Linked DNA regions of Homo sapiens: region 2 is linked to region 1. The links are contacts of gene promoters, found by promoter capture Hi-C in blood cells and fetal thymus (Javierre and others, 2016). All regions are on one chromosome and are shown on one strand. Each heading gives the region's core, a stretch centred on a gene start or on the middle of the fragment in contact. The rest is flanking DNA. Distances are from core to core; before and after follow the strand shown.

Region 1 (5,497 bases), core at 2,668-5,167:
AACCCCTGGATTTAGAGGCTGAATTAGAGACATTATGTCTGGGGACAAGTAGACCACTTCCACAGCTTCGATGTTGAACTCATGGGGTTCTGGGTGGCCAGGGGCATAGTCCAGTATCAAAAGAATTTTTAAAGGCAATCCCTGCTGGCAAGGTACTTTCTGACTTCAGGGACAAAGCATCAATGAAATTAATCCAGAAAGAATGATTCTTGTTGTCCAGGCCTCCTTATACAACCACAAGACTAGCAGCTGGTACTTATCTTTTTCCTTCAAAGCTCGGGGGTTAGACACTTCATAGACAAGGAACCCAACTGCATATCCATAAAATAGAAGAATTTGCGTACACCTTCCTGCCTTAAATCCTGGTGCTCATTTCTCTTCCTTACTAATAAATGTCCTTTGTGACATTTTTTCCAAAACAGGTCACTTTCATCAGCATTAAAAGCTTGTTCAGGGCTGCTCTGCCTATGGTGTAGCCATTCTTTTATTCTTTTGCTTTCTTAATAAACTTGCTTTTACAAAAAAACACCCACTCAGGAAGATATATTTAATACTTTCTCCTCAATGATTTTCTGAATGGTGTTTGGGAACTCATCTTCTGCCTGTTGGTCAGCAGAGGCTTTTTCTCCGGTTCTCTTGACATTTTTTAAGCCAGATCTCTTCCTAAAATTATCAAACTATCCTTTGCTGGCATTAAATTACCCAGTTTTAGATCCTTCTCCTTCCTTCTGCTTTAAGCTGTTATACAATGACTTCACTTGTTTTTGAATAGCATTAGTTTATATGTATGCCTTTCTCATAGCAATTCTGCCCCCACATAAAAGCTAAATTTTCAATAAAACATGAAAAGGTACTTTGCAAAAAGTACGAAGTTTTCACACCTGCTGGCATAGCTGCAGCAACAGCTTCATGAATTTCCTTTTCTTTTTTCACAATGGTCCTTACACTCAATTTATTTATCTTGAAATGGCAGGCAATCACAGCTGCAAACCTCAATCCATAGTACATACCAAGCATTTCACTTTTTCTGTAATGTCATTACTTTTCTCTGCTTCTTGGGAGTACTCCCAGTATCATTAGTGGTACTTTGTATGGATCCCATGGTATTCCACTCGGATTTCTGACTTCATAGGGGTCAGTGGCCCTAATCTCTGCACTGTTCAAGGATCAACTTCATATAAAATTATTTTTTATTTCAGAATAGATGTACCTAGTATACCCCATCTCAGAAGGGCCCATGTTTTCTTGTATAACAACATTTCAGAGATACTCTTATCATCTGTGTGTGTGTGTGTGTACGTGAATACACACATAAGTTTTTTTTTTTTTAATCACACATATACACTGAAAAGCATGCTACATACACCATCTGGCACCTTCCAAAAGATTTTTCCTGGAAAAGGGATACATAATCATGGTTTTATTCAAGACAGTTCTAGTGTTTAAAATCACTTTTGCTGACTACAGCAGTAACAAATGGAAAACACCAAAACATATGCAAAAACAGCTTCACTCATAAACCCAACCACTCAGGTAACATTTACCTGTATTTCCTACCTTCTCTGCATAAAAGAAATACAGGGTACAGGTTAGATGGTATACAGATCAGATGGCATCCTATGACTTTTTAATAACACACAACACTAAATGTTATGACCATAAGTAGATGACCTCAGAAATCTAGTTTAACCTGCTCCTACTAGATGGCTCTCCTACCTTAGAAACCTAAACTGACCCAGTTCCCAAAAGAGGTAGGTAAGAATCCATGGACAAAAGTTAATCATATGGGCTGCGTGCAGTCGCTCACGCCTGTAATCCCAGCACTTTGGGAGGCTGAGGTAGGTGGATCACTTGAGATCAGGAGTTCGAGACCAGCCTGGCCAACATGGTGAAACCCCCGTCTCTATTAAAAATGTAAAAAAAGTAGCCGGGCATGGTGGTGCCCACCTGTAGTCCCAGCTATTCTGCAGGCTGAGGCATGAGAATCACTTGAACCTGGAAGGTGGCTGTTGCAGTGAGCCGAGACCGCATCACTGCACTCCAGCCTGGGCAAGAGAGTGAGACTCCGTCTCAAAAATAAAAATAAAAATAAAAATCATATGAAGCTTACATTTCTTTCATACTAAACCTGTTAGTCTAGCTTGGAATACCTTCCAGATGACAGAAAGCAAATAATAATTAGTGTTCCCTCTGTTAAGGATCCCACTTCTCCCACACTCCTACAGTTCAAACATCTCACCATCACAGAGCACACTTCTCAGTAAAACATCAACTACTATTTAAGCTCAATAATATTTAAACCAAGAATCAACAAGAAAGCAAGGCCACTTTTAGGGAAGAAATCTAACTTCAACATAGTCACAAATAATGGTTACACCAGAGAAAAATGAAGTTACCAAATTCCTTGCGCATTCCTCCCTGTTGCTATCCTTGGGAATCAACTACCTTAAGATAAAGAGTAAGAATGGTTGCCTGTTCAAAACATCAGAGAAAACAGCTTGCGGATGCTGTCAATGAGAACTATCTCAGATTTCTTTCCACCAAAAGCAAATCTGGTGTTAATTTTAATGGAAAAGTCTCCTCTACTACCTATTGCATCGCAACAATTTCTTGAAATAGTAAAATGAAGTAAAACAAGTTTATTTCGGGGGCAGAATCTTCTGATTTCAAAATGTCAATTGAATTTATCAATTTTAACCTTTCGGAATATTTCAGGTTTTTTTGGGGAGGGTGGCATCAAGTCCTCTTAAGAATATTATAGGGATGTGGCCGGGTGCGGTGGCTCACGCCTGTAATCCCAGCACTTCGGGAGGCCGAGGCAGGCGGCTCACGAGGTCAGGAGATCGAGACCATCCTGGCTAAAACGGTGAAACCCCGTCTCTACTAAAAAAAAAAAAAAAAAATACAAAAAAATTAGCGTGGTAGCGTGGTGGCGTGGTGGCGGGCGCCTGTAGCCCCAGCTACTCGGGAGGCTGAGGCAGGAGAATGGCGTGAACCCGGGAGGAGGAGCTTGCGGTGAGCCGAGACCGCACCACTGCACTCCAGCCTGGGTGACAGAGCGAGACTCCGTCTCAAAAATAAAAAATTCTAAGGATGTTGGGACGGGTACCACTTTGCTTTCTGATTTCTGTCCAACAAATCTTTATGATCGTCTGTTTTATTCAACAATACTGCGGGAAAAGCTTCAGCTGCAAGCTGAGGGGGTGGGAGGTGGGGAGATGGAAGAACGCGCTGCAGGTGTGCGGATTCTGCCTAAAATTGCGGCTACGAACTGGACCTTGAACACTCCTCCGTCAGCTGACTTGACTGCCTGTGTACAGTCTCAATTTGAGCCGACACACGGATTTCACTTTTGAAAAGCAACGAAGATGAAGAACTCGTTTTGAGAAATGGATGAGAAAAAGGTAGCTCAGGAGACGAAGCCTCGGGAAAGGAGGCAATCAACCCCACCCCACCGGCCTGTGCTTCCGGCCTCGACGCTCCGCCGTGCTCCCCGAGGCCGCTCCTCTGCGGAGCTCGCTCTCCCCACTGGTCCCCAGTCCCGCAGCTACGCGGCCTCCGCACGGTTAAGCAGCACGGGCCGGGCGTCTGCACCTTCGGAGAAAAGCCGCCGCCCAGGCTCCGCGCTGCGGCGTTACCTGTTAAGAAGCAGGGAGGCGGCGCTGAGACAGAGCAGCAGGAAGCAGAACAGCGGGTACTGGCGGCAGATCTCGCGTCCCACGTCCAGTCGCAGCCGCTGCTTCAGCTTCTGCCCCATCGTCCGCACCCAGGGCACCATCTCCGTAACGGCGAGGCCGAGACTGCGCTACTGGCTGAGGCAGAGGTCAAGGCGACCCCCCATCCACACCTCGCGTCCCCGCCCCACCGACTTGGCGGCGCACACAGACGCCTACCGGCAGTTAGCCGCCGCAGGCTGAGGTCGCGTCCGGCTGGGCCCAGCCCCACGCCCCCCGCCGCGCGTGCGCGGCCGCGGTCCCCAGCCGACCAGAGGAACGGCCGTAGAACGTGCCCGAAGTCGTCACCCAGCGCAAAGCCTCTAGCGTCTCGCCGCTCCGCCCTCCTGGCCGGAGTAGCGCGCAGTCTTCCGTGGAAACTCTGACAACACTGGCGACCGGCCATTTCCGGAAATCAAAGGACAGCCCCAGCACCCAGTAACTGCCTGTATTGCGGAGGAGAGGGAAGAAGGTTGTAGGGAGCCCGGAAGAAACTACAGCACCCCCGTAGCCGCCGGGCGCTGCCTGAGGGGCAACCGGAGCTCGTGGAGCCCGCTGGGAACTGTAGTCTTCGTGACACGAACCCGCAGAGGGATGGAGCGGGTGGTAGCGCTTCCCCGACCCCGCAACGCTCCGCGCCTCACCGTACACTCGGCTCCGGGTGGGAGCAGGTCCGAGCTTTGCGTGACGCCTAAGGGAGAGGGGGATAGGAGGACGCCTTTGAGTCGGTATTTTAAAAGGGGTGTGTTGGGGGCTGGGGGGGTGGCGAGTAAAACAGCCCTAGAATAAAGACTACAACTCATCAGGCCGCCACCCCACCAACAAAATCTCTTTTGCGCGCTCACGGGCAAGGGTAGAGCTCAATTCACGCCGGCTCCGGGAGCCCAACCAAAATCCGAGTGCTTGGAAGAGGCAGGTTGGCAGATTAGGTAAAATCCCTCTTATAGAGTCTCATGGGGTTTTCCCTTTACTAATTCATCACATTTCTAAATTTTTTTTTCTGTATTGTCCGCTACAGTGAGAGATGCAGGAAGACTATTATCGCGAAAATTTACTTAGGCGGTACAGACACTAAGCACTTTCATTTGACCTTCATGCATTCACCCCATGGTGTAGGTACAGTACTATAGTTTCAATCATTATACAGGCAAATTACTGAGACAGAAAGGAACTTAGGATCATAAAACTAACAAAGCCGGAATTTGAACACGTTCTAAAGACAGAGCCTGTGCCTGTCATCTCTCTTTCCTAGGATCTTATCCTTCAAAGTGGGGAAACAAATGTTTTTTAATGATGTATGTAGTTTCATGAATATTTTCCCGTATTACAAAAACATGGATCTTTAATGATGCATTATTATCCTTTATCAGAATGTACCATCCTGTTCCATTATTGCTAACCACTAAAGTCCATTGATATTACCATCCTTGATGATAAACCTATGCACATTTCTAATTATTTAGAATCAACTTTAATACAATTACTGGGTCAAAGGGTAAAAACAAACATTCTTGATACAGTCAAACTGCTTTGTAGAATGGTGGTACCAACTCCACAGTGGTGTATAAAAGTAAACAATTTCACTGATCCTCACGATTAGCTATTATTGTCTAAACATCACAAATACACTTTTCTGTTTGTGACTAAACCATTTAAAAGACTACAGTGTAACATCATTGGAAAGCTTACCATTTTTTAATATTTCTAGGTACATATTTAAACATTTATTAATTTCACTTTGGCAGTTTTTAAGTATCTTTATCTGTTAATACTAAAATAGGTGT
Region 2 (5,131 bases), core at 1,019-3,518, about 66 Mb after region 1:
CCAAGGTGGCTCTCATTTGGCAAGTCAGCTATGGCTGATGGTGGAAGTTCTTCATTGGACTGCTTGAGTGTCCTCAAGCAGTGGCGAAGGCTAGCTACCCGCAGAGTAGGTGATTCAAGCAAGAGCAGAGAGGAGGCCACACACCATCACTTCTGCCATATTCTATTAAAAAGAAGTCACTTAAGTCCAGCCCAAACTCAGGGGATGAGTATCAAAGAATTATGGACATAGTTTAATAGCTGCCACATTTATATGTTTTTCCACTTTATATTTTATTTATTTATTTATTTAGAGATGGAGTCTTGCTCTGTCGCCCAGGCTGGAGTGCAGTGGCGTCATCTCAGCTCACTGCAGCCTCTGCCTCCCGGGTTCAAGTGATTGTCCTGCCTCAGCCTCCCTAGTAGCTGGAATTATAGGTGCCCCCTACCACGTCCGGCTAATTTTGTATTTTTAGTAGAGATGGGGTTTCACTATATTGGCCAGGCTGGTCTCGAACTCTTGAACTCAGGTGATCCACCTGCCTCAGCCTCCCAAAGTGCTGGGATTTCAGGCATGAGCCACCACCCTGGCCTGTTTTTCCATTTTAAAGATGAGTTAGGATTGCACCAAAAGCCATGCTGAAATCAACCTATAAGTAATTATCTTAGTTAATTAAGTCAGTTTTTTTCTCTGAGGGCATCTAGTCACACTTCCTTCTCAGTCTTCAATTTGAAAAAGCAGGCTCAAAGAATTTAAGTAATTAAGCAGCCCAAGGTCATTCAGTCTAGGAAAACCTCACAAATTTTCTCTGACCTTTGTCATGAATAACATGTGAGCTGATAAAGATGAGAAAATTAAGAAGTTACACTGTAGAACTGTTCGCCAGTCTTCTAGTTTGCAGACCTCCATATTATAATACACTTTAAAATTCAGATAATGCTTGGTGTCTAGATTCCTCATACTAGCACCCCTCCTGTTCATTTTTAGAGGAAACAGGAAATGTACTTATTAAATGAATTCAAACTACTTTGAATAGACCATTCCAGATGCTGCCTGTATACTCACTATGAGATGTACTGTGCAAACTAATTCCAATTAGCACATTTTGAGAACCCAAAAGGATGTTGTGACTTAAAGATGATGAGAATTTAAGTGTAAAGAAGACTACACTTCTTTATGCTGTGAAATTTTCATAGAAATTTTGGATCTGGAAGGATTTTGTTCTAAGACTAGTTTTAGCTTAGTGATAAAAGGAATAGGATGACATTGGTAGTGAGCGAAGGCAGGATAAATTTCTAAAGACTTCCTTAAAAATTTTTTTAATCCATTAGGCTTTTCTAAATTATAGGTTGGGATACAATAAGTTATCTTACACCTTTGCTTCACGGAATGGGCTAATGGCTACTTTTTTTTTTTTTTTTTTTTTTTTTTTTGAGATGGAGTCTTACTCCCATCTCACAGGCTGGAGTGTAGTGGCACAATCTTGGCTTACTGCAACCTCCACCTCCCGGGTTCAAGTGATTCTCCTTCCTCAGCCTCCTGAGTAGCTGGGATTATAGGCGTGCACCACCACACCCGGCTAATTTTTGTATTTTTAGTAGAGATGGGGTTTCACCATGTTGGCCAGGCTGGTCTCGAACTCCTGACCTCAGGTGTGCCACCTGCCTTGGCCTCCCAAAGTGCTAGGATTACAGGCATGAGCCACTGCGCCTGGCCGGATAATGGCTACTTAAATCATTTTTCAGTTTTCCCTTACCACTATGATTCCTGACTGTTTCTATTCTGACCTAAAGTACTGTTTGTACACAATTAATTTTGATTACCCTTTTTGCTTGTTACTTGTCTCCCTATATCTTGTATCTCTCACTCTCACTGTAAGCTCCCTGAGGGCAGGTACTTCTTTTTATGTACACTCCTGGTACTCAATTGCTTGCAGAATTGAGTTGAATTTGTAGTTAAAGGATCTAAGATGATCATTTTCCCACTCGAACTGAGTGAAAAAGGTGTTTATTGTTGCAGAAAACATCTGCGTATAGGTATTGGATGCTAGTGGTGCATATATGAATACCTATCTCTGCTCTTCAGGTGGTCACAGTCCACTGGGGGAGAAAAACACAGATACTTAGTACAATTTATTCTATACTGCAGATGTGCAGAGTGCTGTGGGTATGTAGATAACTTTAAGCTGAATCTTGGTCGGTGAGCAGGTGTTCAGAAGATAGACTTAGTGGCCAAGTGCGGTGGCTCACGCCTGTAACCCCAGCACTTTGGGAGGCCGAGGCGGGTGGATCACTTGAGGTAAGGAGATCGAGACCATCCTGGCCAACATGGTGAAACCCCGTCTCTACTAAAAATACAAAAATTAGCTGGGCGTGGTGGTGCATGCCTGTAATCCCAGCTACTCGGGAGGCTGAGGCAGGAGAAGCGTTTGAACCAGGGAGTTGGAGGGTTGCAGTGAGCCGAGATGTTGCCACTGCACTCTAGCCTGGTGACAGAGCGAGGCTCTGTATCAAAAAAAAAAAAAAAAAAAAAGATAGACTTAGTTTTGTGATGTGCTTTGGGGGTGGTGCATTTCTTAGCTTCATTCCTTTACTATACATCTCCCTTGAATTATTTTCCTTTTATCGTTGGTGAGTTACCATCATAATTTAATAAATTGTTTCCTTCTGTGACATGTACATTCTTGTCACATCATTTCTCTAGAACTGTGCTGTCCAGTTCAACTCAGTGTCACACTAGCCATGTGTGCTGAGTAGCCACCTGTGGCTAGAGGCTACCATATTTGGGCAGCACAGATAATATAAAACATTTCTATTATTGGAGAAAGTTCAGTTGGACATCACTGCTCTAGAATCATGTTTTGCTTCTCCCTATTTTCACGTTATCAATAGTGTATTGAGTTCAGAATAGAATTAGGAAACAATAGCCTCCTGATATTGTCATTGGGAGGGATAGAGTGGTTGATATTTATGAACAGAGGGGGGAGAGTGTAGTGTTTGGTAGTGGTTGAGAATATAGCCTTTGGAATCAGATCTGGGTTGGAATTATGGTCCGTCCCTTACACACTGTATGGCTTCGGGCATGTTACTGAACCTCTGAGCCTCAAGTTTTCCTTCTCAAATAGGGTTAATAGTAATTATCTCATAACATTGGGTGAACATAAAAACAGGAGGGGGGCCGTAGCACAGTACCTCAGTAAATGATAAAATCGGTATATTTTTGAAATCATCACTGATTTAAAAAAAAACCTTAGAATTATGTAGTAAAAGTGACTTTTTTTTTTCAGTATACCGTTCTGTGATTTTTAACATAGTATTTATTTGTTGTAATCACCAACACGAGAATATAGGCCAGGTCTATCACTTTATTTTGCTGTCTTTATAGACCTGTGCTGTTTCCACCCCTAACCCCTGGCTGTCACCGATCTGTTGTCCATCACTATAGTTTTACCTTTTCTAGGATGTTACATAAATGGAATTACACAGTATGTCGCCTTTGCACACTGGCTTCCTTTACCCAGCCAGATTGGGTTGAGAGCGATTTGTCCAAGTTGTTACATCTATCAGTCGTTGAAAACTGATCTTTAAAGACATTTTAATTTTGAATCATTATTTCCTAAACGTGAATCTGAATTCCTTAACAGTTCTTCAAGTAGTGTTTGGCTCAGGATTTTTGTGTTTAAAAGTAAAATAAATGGTAAAATATATAGGGAAAAATTACTGCTTCCACCTGATTGGTAAAAACCATGTGTGACATTAACATGCTTTTCTTTAGGGAAGGTTCTTGTTTTTAGTAGTTGATCCATATTAAAGCTCTGTAGAGTTGCCACAAAGTCCAGAGTTGAAAAAGGTGGCTGTTAAAATATCAGTTTCTAAAATGTGGCCGAAGATAGCGTGACCAGTCCTGGTTTGCCCAGGACTTTGCCAGTATTAGCAGTGAAAGTCTGGCCGCTCTCAGGAAACCCCTTGGTCCCAGTCAAACCCAGAATGGGACCAAGCGCCGTGGCTCATTCCTGTAATCCCAGCACTTTGGAAGGCTGAAGTGGGCAGATCACGAGGTCAGGAGTTTGAGAACAGCCTGGCCAAAATGGTGAAACCCCGTCTCTAATAATAGCCTGACATGGTGATGCACGCCTGTAATCCCAGCTGCTTGGGAGGCTGAGGCAGGAGAATCGCTTGAACCCAGGAGGTAGAGCTTGCAGTGAGCCAAGATTGTGCCAATGCACTGCAGCCTGGGTGACAGACTGAGACTGTGTCTGAAAAACAAACAAACAAACAAAACCCCAGAATGGTTGGTCACCCTATCTGAAAAGAGACACACAAAATCAGAGGATTCCAGTTCATCAGGTTTCAGTAGTGAACCATCGGCCAAGTATTTCATCTAATCTTAATTGCCTTTGGGTGCTTAGAGTCAAATCTCTAAGGTAACCAGAACCCAAACCACATGAGGTTTTTTAGATTAAGATCAGCACCTTGAATTTAAGGTTTTGTGGCTAGAGGTTTAGATTTGATTGGAATTACATCGTTAATTTTTGTTAAATTGTTGAATAAGCAACTTCCCAAGCCTTGTGTGTAGAAGCTAGATTAAAAGTCAAGTTTCTACTTAACCAGAATCTCTGTTTTGAGTTTTTAAATTCAACTGGTGATGTCTAAATCTTAAGGATATTGTAAGTTCCTTAACTAGTCTGTTCCATTTTCCTGAGTTTTCACATCACCTCTCTACCTCTTGTGTAGATTTTATTTTTTATTTTGAAACGGATTTTCGCTCTTGTTGCCCAGGCTGGAGTGCAGTGGCACCATCTCGGCTCCGCAACCTCTGCCTCCTGGGTTCAAGCGATTCTCCTCCCTCAGCCTCCTGAGTAGCTGGGTTTACAGGCACATGCCAGCGCACCTGGCTAATTTAGTATTTTTAGTAGAGACGGGGTTTCTCCATGTTGGTCAGGCTGGTCTCAATTTCCGGACCTCAGGTGATTTACCCGCCTCTGCCTCCCAAAGTGCTGGAATTACAGGCATAAGCCACCACGCCCAGCCCTAGATTTCTTTATAGAGCATCTGTCTATAAGCAGATTACTTAGTTTTCCTGATGTCTTCGTTGGAATGTAAGCTTTGTGAAAGCCAGGGGCCCTATGTGTCATCTTTACCACTATGTCTTA

The links. Contacts are between HindIII fragments. The CHiCAGO score rates a contact against its expected background, and 5 or more counts as called.
Region 2: a fragment that was not itself captured here is called in contact with the fragment with the promoter of SNX14 in region 1 in 1 of 17 cell types (total B cells); the score reaches 6.1 in total B cells.

What each region holds. Positions count from the first base shown.
Region 1 is chr6:85,589,941-85,595,437 of GRCh38, forward strand. It overlaps SNX14 (sorting nexin 14), which reads right to left and starts at 3,918. Exons shown (of 29, transcript NM_153816.6): 1 at 3,639-3,918. The coding sequence starts at 3,778. RefSeq lists enhancers at 2,409-2,994, 2,995-3,578, 3,579-4,162, 3,611-3,780, 4,091-4,210 and a silencer at 3,841-4,060. The HindIII fragment of the contact is 2,215 bases long and covers 3,181-5,395 here.
Region 2 is chr6:151,395,545-151,400,675 of GRCh38, forward strand. It overlaps LOC124901232 (translation initiation factor IF-2-like), which reads left to right. Exons shown (of 3, transcript XM_047419613.1): 3 at 1-5,131. Among named protein-coding and RNA genes, the nearest start is that of ZBTB2, 6.6 kb to the left of the region's middle. The HindIII fragment of the contact is 5,623 bases long and covers 1-5,080 here.